Regions from separate parts of the Homo sapiens genome. Here region 2 is linked to region 1. Evidence: promoter capture Hi-C in 16 types of primary human blood cells and fetal thymus (Javierre and others, 2016). All regions are on one chromosome and are shown on one strand. The core of a region is centred on a gene start or on the middle of the fragment in contact, and the rest is flanking DNA. Distances in the headings are between cores, read along the strand shown. Region 1 holds the start of CRYZ (crystallin zeta). Region 2 overlaps ZRANB2-AS1 (ZRANB2 antisense RNA 1).

Region 1 (6,028 bases), core at 1,513-4,012:
CTCCTACTTTGCTTCTGTTGATCTTATCTCCCACTGAGCCTTTAGCATTCTGATTCATCAGGCTCCAACCTGCACTCATTGCCTTTGAACTCACCTATCCACGGGATCATCATATGCTTCATAACGATGAAGCCTGTCAAAGGAGATTACACAAAGAATAAAATAACGTGGCATACTGATGGCAAATAGGATAATACTTAAAATCCTGTAATACCGGATTTCTTCTAAAAAGCATAAGTCTTCCACCTCCATTGACTTAACTGTTTTCAGAACAGGTAGAGAAGTTATTTAAACTATTATTTTATGCAGAAGTAAAAATAAAATCGCCATCCATTTTATGGATGAGAAAACATCACAAGAGGTTAAGAGACTTGGTCAGGGTCACACAGAAGCAAAGCTAGAACCCAAGTCCTGTAATTAAATGGTGTTAGCTGATTTTTTTCTTTACCATCCTTTTCATCTCACCCTTTGAGATGCTGGCATATAAGACCCTTTACTTCGTAGAAATAAACTTTACAATAGTGATAGTGAGACAGATTGAGCTAGAAAATGTGAAATCAAACTAACCTGCAGGTAGAATCGCATATTTTATGACTAAGGCATCTGCTTAGAGTTTGAAATTTCTCAAATGCCCACTAAGTCAGGGAATGCAGCAGAAATACAAAGGACATGATTCTATTTTTAAAAATGTATAAAAAAAAATTACTCCCTAGCATCGGATCCTTGTGAACAGGACAGGCCTTTCCATTGCTTGTGCTTTTTAATTAAACTATACTTCAAATAGGCCTTCCTGTTTATCAAATATAAACTTTTAAAAATTAAGAGTCCCTTGGTTTAATTTTTGGTTTAATTTTACCTCTGAAAGGTTGCCAATATGCCTTACAAATCTAGGAAATAGAAAATCTAAAATCCCTCTTCCAACAGTGATCTTTTTCCTGGCTATGCTTGTATCCATTTGATTTAAACGAAAATTAAAGGAATTGGGAAAATGTTAGGAGTATATTTTAACATAGGATGAACAGATCAAGTCACAAAGCCAGAGCAAAGGAACATTATGAGACAAGAGCAAAAGTAAAATTAAATAAGAATTCTGGCAAGAATTTTAAAAACTGAAAACTTAGAAAAAAAATCAATCATTACAAATTGTTCTGCTGCTAATACACAATGACTCATGTAAGCATATGGTTTATTATTAACCCAGAAATGTAAAAAAGGCAAGAATTACAAGTGGTCAGAGAAAGTCTCTTCCTGGCTGTGTGATCTTATCAGGTCACTTCTGTTCACTTGAGATAGGACGGGGTAAGAAGAGGGGAGGAGTTTAATAATTTCGGACTCCTCCAGGTTCCATGATCGTATGGAACAGGGCAGTCTGTTCCCTAATGCTGGAGGAGTAGAGCTTGGAGAGATTTGCTGCTGAACTCGCTGCGCTAACCAGACACGTAATCACAGTGGCTTCAGAGGGACTCGCACAACAATTTCCATTAGCTACGGACAAGCATTCCAAACTTTAGCCTTTAGGTTTAATCATTGACACACCTTCCCTGGTCACTGAGTCTCCTCTAGAAACTCAGTATAAACATCCAACGATGTGTTAACAGGGTGTTTTGTAATTTTCTTTTGAAGATTATTCTAGGTGGTGGGCGTCACAGGGTCAATAAAACTATACATTTCTCTCAAAGACTGCAATCCTGATGGCAAAGCTGGAGGAAGCTCCGGGAAACCTGTAATTGTGGGAATCCAAGACAAAAAATCCCCCACAGCTGGGCTGTGGGAAGGGGCCCTACCTAGGAGAAGAAATCAAATCCCCTACAGCTGGGCTGTGCGAAGGGGCACTACCTAGGAGAAGAAATCCCCTACAGCTGGGCTGTGGGAAGGAGCCCTACCTAGGAGAAATCCCCTACAGCTGACAGGTGGGCTGTGGGAAGGGGCCCTACCTAGGAGAAGAAATCAAATCCCCTACAGCTGGGCTGTGCGAAGGGGCACTACCTAGGAGAAGAAATCCCCCACAGCTGGGCTGTGGGAAGGAGCCCTACCTAGGAGAAATCCCCTACAGCTGACAGGTGGGCTGTGGGAAGGGGCCCTACCTAGGAGAAGAAATCAAATCCCTACAGCTGGGCTGTGCGAAGGGGCCCTACCTAGGAGAAGAAATCCCCTACAGCTGGGCTGTGGGAAGGGGCCCTACCTAGGACAAATCCTCTACAGCTGAGAGCTGGGCTGTGGGAAGGGGCCCTGGACAGACCGCTGGGCGCTGCTGCAGGAATCCCCAAACCCAGGCACTGGCTGCAGGGAAAAATCAAGCGGGTGACTGGCGGGGGGGGGGGGGGGGGGTGCAGCGTGGGGCTGGGGGACAGGGAGTGCGGGGGGCGGAGGCTGGGCAGGGGTAGTGCCAACGGACACCTCATGGTGTGGTAGCCTAAACTCAGAGCCTAAACGCAGGACCAGGGCTAGGAGCCCAGGACCAGAAGGCAAAACTTCCTACCTGATTTATGGATGGGAACTTGCAGCCCCTGGAGGGGAATGGCTTCGGTCTGGAGCTCTACGCACTAGTTCTCTGGGAGGACAGAGGGCAGGAAAGGGGTGCAGCCAAAATCAAACTCGGTTCCACTTGGACGAGCAGTGGGGAGATTCGCTGTCTAAACAACTAAGGAGAGTTTTTAAAACCACTTACCAGAATCTAGAGTGGGAATTAAAATCTGCGTGGGCTTCTTCAGATTCCACAGAAATGAGGACTGCCACACCTTCTCCAACTTTTGCAGGCTCCACCCAGGATGTGCGCCTCGCTCCACCCAGGATGTGCGCCTCTCTCCACCCCTAGGCGAAGGCACTAGAATTTCCCAAATTAAGAACGAAGAGGAAGTTTGGACCTTTTCGGCCACCGCTCGCTTCAATATGGCTGCCCCCAGGGAGAGACGAGGCTACCATGAAGGAGCCGAGCGCAGACCCTGAGTCCGTCACCCATGGATCGCAGCGCGGAGTTCAGGAAATGGAAGGCGCAATGTTTGAGCAAAGCGGACCTCAGCCGGAAGGGCAGTGTTGACGAGGATGTGGTAGAGCTTGTGCAGTTTCTGAACATGCGAGATCAGTTTTTCACCACCAGCTCCTGCGCTGGCCGCATCCTACTCCTTGACCGGGTGAGGCCCCTTTGCGCCTGTCCATCGCCTGCCTTCTAGTGCGAAACTTCAGGAGCCCTGTTCCCATCCAGTGACGACCGGATCCAGCATGTCTGTGTTTGCTCCTCTGAGGGGTGGTCTCTGTTTCTTTATATGTGAAATTTAGGGGATTAGATCAGTGCTTCTAAAAGTTTAACGTGGCTATTAATCAGCTGAGCATCTTTTAAAATACAGATCCCGATTCTTTAAGTGTAGGGTAGGGCCTGATACTGTGCATTTCTAACAAGTGCCCAAATGATGTTGAAACTGCTGACCTGGGAACTATCTTGTGTGGCAAAGTTTAGAAAATTTGATTTTATTATATGAATACTAAGGGAATCTAAAGACTTTGTAGCTTGCTAAGGTATTGAATGCCGGAATCCGCTCATCAACAGCTCTGGCAAATCATTGTTACTGCATGCTTGAACATCACCAGTGTTAAGGAGTTTACTGCCTCCTAGTGAGCCCCTCCATTATTACAACTCTAGTAGTTTTACGCAGAGAAAAGTACGATCGTATATAATTTAGGATGGTTAGACTTTTTTTTTTAACTTTATGATGGGTTTACAGGGGTAGTAAATGCATTTTGACTTACATTTTCCACTTATGACGGATTTATTGGGATGTAACCCCATCATAAATCAAGAAGCAGCTGTACAAGCCATACCTCCTTATTTGCAGGTTCAGTTACCCCAGTCAACAGCAGTCTGAAAATATTAAATGAAAATTCCAGAAATAAACAATTAGTAAGTTTTAAATTGCATGCTGTTCTGAGTAGCGTGATAAAATCTTGAGCCAACCAGCTCCTTCCAGAATGGAAGGTGAATCATCCCTTTGTCCAGAATATTCCACTATATATTCTTGCTGCCCTTTAGCTGCTTGGTAGCCTTCTGGGTTATCAGATCGACTGTGGTGGTATCACAGTGCTTGTGTTCAAGTAACTCTTATTTTACTTAATAATGGCCCCAAAGTACGGGAGTAATGATGCTGGCGATTTGGATCTGCCAACAGTAAGTTTTAAAGTGCTTTTTTGAAGTGAAAAGGTGAAAGTTCTTAAGGAAAGACTTAAGGAAAGAAAAAACAGCATATGCTGAGGTTGCTAAGATCTACGGAAAGAATGAATCTTGTCAGTGAAATTGTGAAGTGAAGAAGGAAAAAGAAATTGATCTGAGGTTTCAGGCATCCACTAGGGGGTCTTGGGACATATCCCCTGAGGATAAGGCTGCTTGGGAGTGATACTGCTTAGATTAAAAACCACGGGCTATGTGACCTTAGGAAAGCTATCTCAACTCTGCCCCTTCCTGTTCTATGAACTGAGGATAATAAAAAGTATCTGCTTTATAGGGATTTTGTGTGGAGAAAATAGGATAATTTTTTTTGAAATATTTGGCTTTGTGCCTGGCCCATGCACTGTAAAAGTTGGCTGTGTACTGATTTTATTCGTAGTATTGGCTTAAGAGCATGGAAGACAGCACATTGTTAGGCTCATTCTTTAGGTCCATTATTGACTGATCATTTATTTGCTGATCTCTCAAGTTAGCAGGGCCTGTTCATTTTTAAATCACTTCCATCACCTTCAGAGCAATGGCATTCTTGCCCACAAACTCTCTCTTGCCCCATTTCCATAACTCTGTCTCGCCTTGATTTTTGCAATGGTTCTCTAACAAGCCACTTAACTATTCTTCTCCAAACCATGTTTGACAAATTGCAACTCTGCTTATCTCTCACCTATGCTATGTTTTATTACACATTTTTCTACATCAGAAAATCCAAATGCTTACTCTAGTATACCTTTCAACCTTTTTTTCATTGCTTTTCTTCATCTTTAGCTAGTTACTGAAACTAAACTGTTCTTTTCATCTTGTATTTACTTGCTTTTGCTCATGTTTTTTGGCGGTTTTTTTCCTGAAATGTTTTCCTATCTCTGCATATCTGAGACATGATTCCCAAAACTCCCCTCTCCCACCTGAACCCACAAACACATACTACCTACTTGGAAGTAATGACTGCTTCTGTACTGGTTAGACTTTTATTTCTTATCTTACACCTCGTATTATGGTTTATTTTAAAATCTGCCTTATTTCAGTAAGGATTTGGGGCAACTTACAAACAGGCAACACAAGAAAAAATAAAAAGTGGGAAAATCTGGATAAAGAAAATATAGATAAGATGAAGCCAGCGATGGCATTAGTTGCCAATCCCACCACTAGATCCTGTAAAGTTGCTAGAAGTGGGCCATACATTTGGCTCTAAGATTCAGAGTAGCCAGCACAATGTCAGATACGTAAGTCACCATCACCGAAGTCATACAATGAAGTCAAAATATTTATTTAGGACATGCATAGCAATTCCCGGTTCCAAGGGCAGACAGCAGAGTCTCTTGTGGATCCATCGTATAAATTATAGTTACTTTGAGTATAGTGATTTCTGTTCATGTGGTTTCCTGCATCCCCTTTCCAGTGTCCTTGAGGGGTAGGTTCTGTGTATACCCAAAGTACCTAATAGAACTTTGCAAATAAACATTTGTTCAATTTAAGTTAATATTAAAATGTTTGCCTTCATGAAACTTTGACCTTTCAGTCTTAGCTCCATCCTTCAGGACTACATCTAAAGTCTAATTCAGAGGTCACAAATTTATGCCTCTAGAGACCAAGGAAGTATTATAAATGTGTAAACGGCATAGGTGACAATAAAGGGTAGTAGGTCTTGTGTGGAATTGGGACAGTGCTGTCCTACAAAAGAAATTAAAATTATTTTTTTTTCATTTTTAAATACTGTGCTAGCCAAATAGCTAGAGTACAACTCAGGTGCTGCTAGTATTATCCCTTATACTAATCCCTTTTTTTCTTGCAAAATCATGACCATATTTCAGAAGATGT
Region 2 (6,028 bases), core at 1,686-4,185, 3.7 Mb before region 1:
GGCAGACGCGGCGCGGGCGGCGGCGGAGGTCGGCGTTTACCGCGGCTGGGGCTGGGCTGCCCCCCATGGTGCGGGGCGCAGCCGCCGCCCTACTCCGCTGCTGGGACCGCGGCCGCGGCGGCGCCAGGGCTCACTGGCCCGGGAGGGAGCCACGCCTTCCTCTCTGGGAAACCTCTGGTGGCGAGGCGCGCGGAGGTGCCGAGTCCCCTTTATAAGGCCGAGGGGGCGGGGCGCCCGTGGGTGTGGACAGAACCGAGGTGGGAGGAGGGTGCAAAGCAACTGAGCGCCTCTCTTGGCTGTTGCCTATCCTGATCGCCTGGGTTGGGAAGCCCCAGACGGTCTCCTCTGAAACGCCCTGCTCCTGGCCGGACCGGGAGCCCACTGGGGTCTCCTCCAGTTCTCCGCTAAAGTGTCGGTGGACGGCAAGCAGCTAATAAGTAGCACTGGACTTGCGGACCCCAGGCAAACTGCCGAGGCGCACCTGAGCGCTCGTCCTCCTGCTTCTTCAACCACAAACGCTCCTACAGGGACGGGATCCTTCTCCTGAAGTCCTTTAGTAACTCTGGTAAAGTGAAAATCGCCTGTCCTTAAGCAATCCACACAAGCCTTTGCATAGCTGATCGTTAACTTTTTTCCTTTCTGCTTTGTGACTCTAGAGTGATTATAAAAAGGCCAAGGTGTCCTGTCCCCTGGGGTGCCGCTGAAAACTATAAAATTACTAGACAGTGCCTGTAGACTTAAGGGAATAGACACAGGGAAACAAATACATCGGATGGTTGAATTCCAAGACCAAGAAATCCCAACTACTACCCCTCGCCTAATCCTGCCCGCTCCCCTCCCCACCACCCAACAAAAAGGTCAGCTATGGCAAAAGTGGCTACAGGAAGGTGGCATCAATTTGCATATCTGAGGTAGTGAAATCAACTGCTCCCAGCCTATGGGAGTGAGAGGGGAGCAGAAGAGAAAGGTATTCCTTACAAAGCCTCCAACCATCCTTCTTATCTTCATACAATAAGAACTAGAAAAGGTATTCAGATGTTATGAAGGCCTTAATCTATATGGAAACTTTGCCTTTGAAATAATAAACATTGAATGAAAATAGGCATACTTGCTTGCCTCGTAACATCTTTCAGTAAGCCAATATTTTATGTACTTCTCACAAGCATTTTCTCATTTTATCACAGAAATCCTCCAAGGTACTATTGCTATTATTATTTCCCTTAAAGGTGGGGTAACTGAGGCCCCATGAAGTTAAAGAATGTTCCTGAAGTCTCTCAGCAATTCTCAAGTCCCATCTTATTTGAAGCATGTATTCCTGACATGGGTCCCATAACTGCTCTCAGCAGATGAATATTAACGGTGAGATCATCTTCCCCTAATCTTGGGAAAGTCTTGTGTTTTTTGCTTTTTGCCTTTTTACACTGTCTAAGAGATGAAAAGATTTTTAAAAATAATTGCAAAGTTCATTTTTCCTCATATTTAAGAAATTAGACTTAATCATATAGCACTCTAAAGACCATTATTTTGATTGACACAGATCAACTTTCAGAACAAGCCCAATCAGTTTTGCCTTTCCTAGCTTAGCTGATGTTCTGTATGGGTGTTCTTAACTTTTAAATTACTGTTAAGAGGTAAGAATGGGATATGTCCCTCTGCATACTTTATGTGCTGTTGTCTTGATTCTGTATGAGAGTTTGAAAAAATATCACTATAACATTATATGTTTTTTAAAGAAGGAAAAGCAAGAATGCAACTTAAACTCCATTTTAATAAGATGCATTAATCACAACATGAATTTCATTTTGTGTTTTGCTGTCATTTAAAAATGTTTTGCACTTTTGCGTTTTACTGACTAAAATGTCACGTTTACAATGGGAACAACAGCTAGGAAGGGTGAAATGGTTTGATTCTAAAATCTTCCGTAAACTTTTGTCTTATTATTTTGAATTAATCTCAAACCTGTATTTGGGATAGTATTTTTCTAGCCTAATATCATTTGAAAATAAAATAATATTTGAGGTTATTCTTAGACAAAGCTTTATCCAAAGCATTTGGATGAAAGTGGCTATCAAGTTTATACCATCTATAGTTAGTAAAATTCTAGTGTAATTCAATATTTAAAATTTAAGACCATATCACCATTCACACAGCAAAGGAAGCAAGGCTTATCTTTTTCCAGTTACATCAAAAACTATTCTCATTTTTATTCACAAATATTTGACTTCTTTGAAACTTTTACTTCTCCCACTGAAGTGCTTGCTGTAGCCAATTGGACTTGATAAGCATGGTAAGCGTCGGGGCATGTATTAGTAAAGAATTGTTAGCCTCTCACTAACCTCTATGCCAATGAACAAAATGTGTTGCATTTCAGATAATTTGGGTATTTCTCTTCTTTCAGCACTTTGCTTCATCCTATATTGTCTGCCTTTAGCTATTCACCTTGTAAACAAGTGACTGTGAGGTTTTGTGGAGTAACAGTGTGAAGCTGGCAGTTGGATTCTGGTTGGTACTTTCTGGTCAGTTACTACGGATATAGTGTGAATTGTGTTGGTCTGAAACAACACCACCCTCTAGTGACCAAAAGGCTAATAACATGCTTTATGCTGTTTTAAAGAGAATTTCCATAGGGCCAATGGATGCTTTGCTTAGGGAATCTCTGATTTCTTTCCTAGAGATCTACTTATCAGTACATAATTGTGGTCACTTTGTTTTCCTTTGAGGTTACAAATTGGCAACTTTGTTTAACAGTCAATAAACCAGTAGAGGATTAAACTGAAAGACCAGATATTCATTTTTTTTTAATTTAAAGTATATATTCACCTATTATGTTTTCAATGAAATTCTAACCTGGACATGTTTTAAATTCACAGATTACTTAATTGTACCCTACAGCTTAAAATGTATAATGTATGTCAATATTTAGCTAGTGATGATGAATTTATTTTGCTATTTACTTCTATTAAACATCTATTTAAAAATCTTAAATATGGATACAAAATAAGATTAATAATGAGTCACATGATCAGCCTTTGATTGCCTCACTATGGATGGAAAATATCTGAAAGTCTTTCTTCATGGAGCCAACCAGTAATTTTAGTTTATATTTTAGTCATTCATTCATTCAATAACCATTCATTGAGCACCCAATCTATGTCAGACACTGTTTCAGTCATTAGGGATACAAAAGCAATACATAACAGTGCCTATATTCATGGGGTTTATATTTTAGTGCAAAATTACTGATTCTAAGTGCCAAATAACAGGAGAAACACTGATCCCATGGCTTTTGTCTTCTCAGAATGATTGTCATGGAAGTACAGTGCAATGTAGACTTAACATTTAAACATCAATCAATGTAATTACTGTATCAAAATAAAAGCAATGCCTAGAAGTCTTTGCTAGATCAAAGAGTCCCTTTCTATGAATGCCTTTTCTGCTGTCTTTTCTTCCTATTCTTTACATGCCTGTTTTTTTTAATTGAAAACTGGACATTGTAATATATTGTAATGACTCTGGAGTCTACCGGGTTTTTTTCCCTGAGTATTATCTATTTTATGTTTGTTTGCTCTGTTTGACAGTTAACTTGTCCGGATTCAAACTGCCAATATTGCCTCCCATGGGGCATGCTGCTCTTGGTATCTCTGCTTCATTCTCATGGTTTTCCATGCTCTTTTAGCTTGGCTTCCTAGAGATTGATTTCCCTATGCCTGTGTAATTTGCTGGTCAGTTAGCAATGGAGATCACCTTCTGTGTGGGTTCCTTGATTCTAGGGATTCTCCTCTTATTTGCAGCTACTCTGCCAGCTTAGGGCTATTCCCTGACATTTAAAGTTTCTGAAGCTTCAGCTTTCTCCCACCCAAAGTACACACAGCACAGGGAGGAATACATCCCCTTAAGTAAAGCATCAAAGTAATCAAAGTAGATGTATTCTTGAATAATGGTTTTTGTGTGTGTTTTGTTTTTTTTTTTTTTTTTTTTTTTTTTTAGACGGAGTCTCACTCTGTCATCCAGGTTGGATGCAGTGGTGCAATCTTGGCTCACTGCAAGCGCCGCTTCCCAGATTCTCGCCATTCTCCTGCCTCAGCCTCCCAAGTAGCTGGGACTACAGGCGCCCACCACCACGCCTGGCTAATTTTTTGTATTTTTAGTAGAGACAGGGTTTCACCATGTTAGCCAGGATGGTCTCGATTTCCTAACATCATGATCCTCCCACTTTGACCTCCCAAAGTGCTGGGACTAGATTTCTATCTGGTCTTTGCTTGCTTTTTCCTCAGGCTTCATGTGGTCTCCTTCACTCATGCAGAGTTTGCTGTGAGACATGAATTTGGGTAGTTCTATCTCATTTCTTCTCTGGTTCTCATTACCAAGATTTCCTACTTAAATTTGCAGTGGCTTTTCAAGCCTTAACTCCAGTCTCTGGAACTTTTTGCCAGTAAGGCTATGATTTTTTTTTTTCTACCAGTATTTCCCATAGCCATAGTCATGAAGAATGGGCAGGATCCTCGATCCCAAAAACCAGTAAGTCATAATTTTTACTCCTTTCATTTGCAGGTCTTTTTTTCTCTTCTATGATTTCTGTATGCTTTTGAATGCCTTCCAATGCAATAGTTTAATAAAATTCAAATACTTGTTTTTACAAATTTAACTATATTTTACTATTGTTATATGCAGGGCAGCGTGATACTGGCATAAAGATAGGCATGCTATGGTTTGAATGTGTCTTCTCCAAAATTCGTGTTGAAACTTAATGGCTACTATGATGGTATTAAGAGGTGACGCCTTTAAGAGGTGGTTGGGCTATGAGGACATCTCTTGAGGGAATGGGATTAGCTGCTCTTACAAAAGGGCTTGACAGAGGGAGTTTGGTCCCTTTCTTGTCATCCTGACATGTGAGGACAGGGCAAGAAGGCCTTCACCAGAGACCAGATGATGGCGCCTTGCTTTTGAACATCCCCAACATCCAAAACATTGAGAAATAAATTTATATTCTTTATAAATTACCCAGATGTAGTACTGTTATAGTAGCACAAAACAAACTAAGACACTGATCTATAGATCAATGAAAGAGAGTATTATAGAGAGCATCATATATACACATATAGAGATATAGATATGTGTACACATATGCAGACATTCAACAGATTTTTGTCAAAAGTGTTAAGGTGATTCAGGAGAACAGTCTTTTTAACAAGTGGTGCTGGAAAAACTAGATAGCTGTATGGATATAAAAATGAACATAGACCTTACACCACAAAACAAAATAGATAATAGACTTAAATGTACCTGTTAAAACTATAAACCTCTGAGATTAAAAGAGGATTTTTCCTTGTGACATCTTTTCTCCTCTATCATTACTGCAAGTACTCCTACAGCTTTGTTGTTGCTGTTGTTGTATTGAACAACGTGTGATTATCTCTTTTAGTTAGTAGGCACAGAAATTCTATTGTTTTATTTGTTTTAAAGAGACAGTCTCACTCTGTCACCCACGCTAACGTGGCCTAACAGTGATGGACGGAGTGGGGAAACCCAACAAGGTTGCTTTGTACAATTCCCCTTCCCCTGGGTATGGGGCAGGACCCCTCGGGAATGAGGGGTTTTCCAGGGAGAAGGGACAGAGTGACCTTGCTAGGTTTTATGGCTATGTTTGGGAGAGAGGAGTTCTAGTTTCTATGACCTGCCTTGGGGAAAACAAATTCTGGTTTCTGTGACTCACTTTGTGGGAGAAAAGGGCACAGGAACCAGGAGGGAAGGACAAAGGCTAGGCTTCTGAGATCTTCCAGTCTCCTCTGGGTCAGAGTAGTCCACATGCCAAAGGGGCCATACTTTGGGGTTTAATGAGCCCTGACAGCAGGTCCTTGCAGATTTCACAGGCAACCTGTGATCTAAGTAATTGGCTTTCAGTCCCCCAATTTCAGAGGACTTTAGCAAAGCCTGGTTGAAATGGCCAAGTGTTAGAAGAATCTCTTCAAAGTTGAAATTCATCAAGTTCTTCAGCTGAGGGTGGAAGAATCCCAGATGTAAGGTTAGC

The links. The method cuts DNA at HindIII sites, captures the fragments that hold promoters and counts their contacts. A CHiCAGO score of 5 or more calls a contact.
Region 2: a fragment that was not itself captured here is called in contact with the fragment with the promoter of CRYZ in region 1 in 2 of 17 cell types (total CD8 T cells and naive CD8 T cells); the score reaches 5.8 in total CD8 T cells.

Annotation. Positions count from the first base shown.
Region 1 is chr1:74,730,288-74,736,315 of GRCh38, forward strand. CRYZ (crystallin zeta) reads right to left here and starts at 2,763. Exons shown (of 9, transcript NM_001889.4): 1 at 2,669-2,763. It overlaps TYW3 (tRNA-yW synthesizing protein 3 homolog), which reads left to right and starts at 2,865. Exons shown (of 6, transcript NM_138467.3): 1 at 2,865-3,131. The coding sequence starts at 2,958. RefSeq lists enhancers at 1,560-1,849, 2,445-3,155, 2,710-2,999, 3,380-3,479. The HindIII fragment of the contact is 10,326 bases long and covers 1-6,028 here.
Region 2 is chr1:71,047,630-71,053,657 of GRCh38, forward strand. ZRANB2-AS1 (ZRANB2 antisense RNA 1) reads left to right here. Exons shown (of 3, transcript NR_038420.1): 2 at 1,185-1,359. PTGER3 (prostaglandin E receptor 3) reads right to left here and starts at 187. Exons shown (of 4, transcript NM_198719.2): 1 at 1-187. RefSeq lists an enhancer at 1-184. The HindIII fragment of the contact is 1,803 bases long and covers 2,035-3,837 here.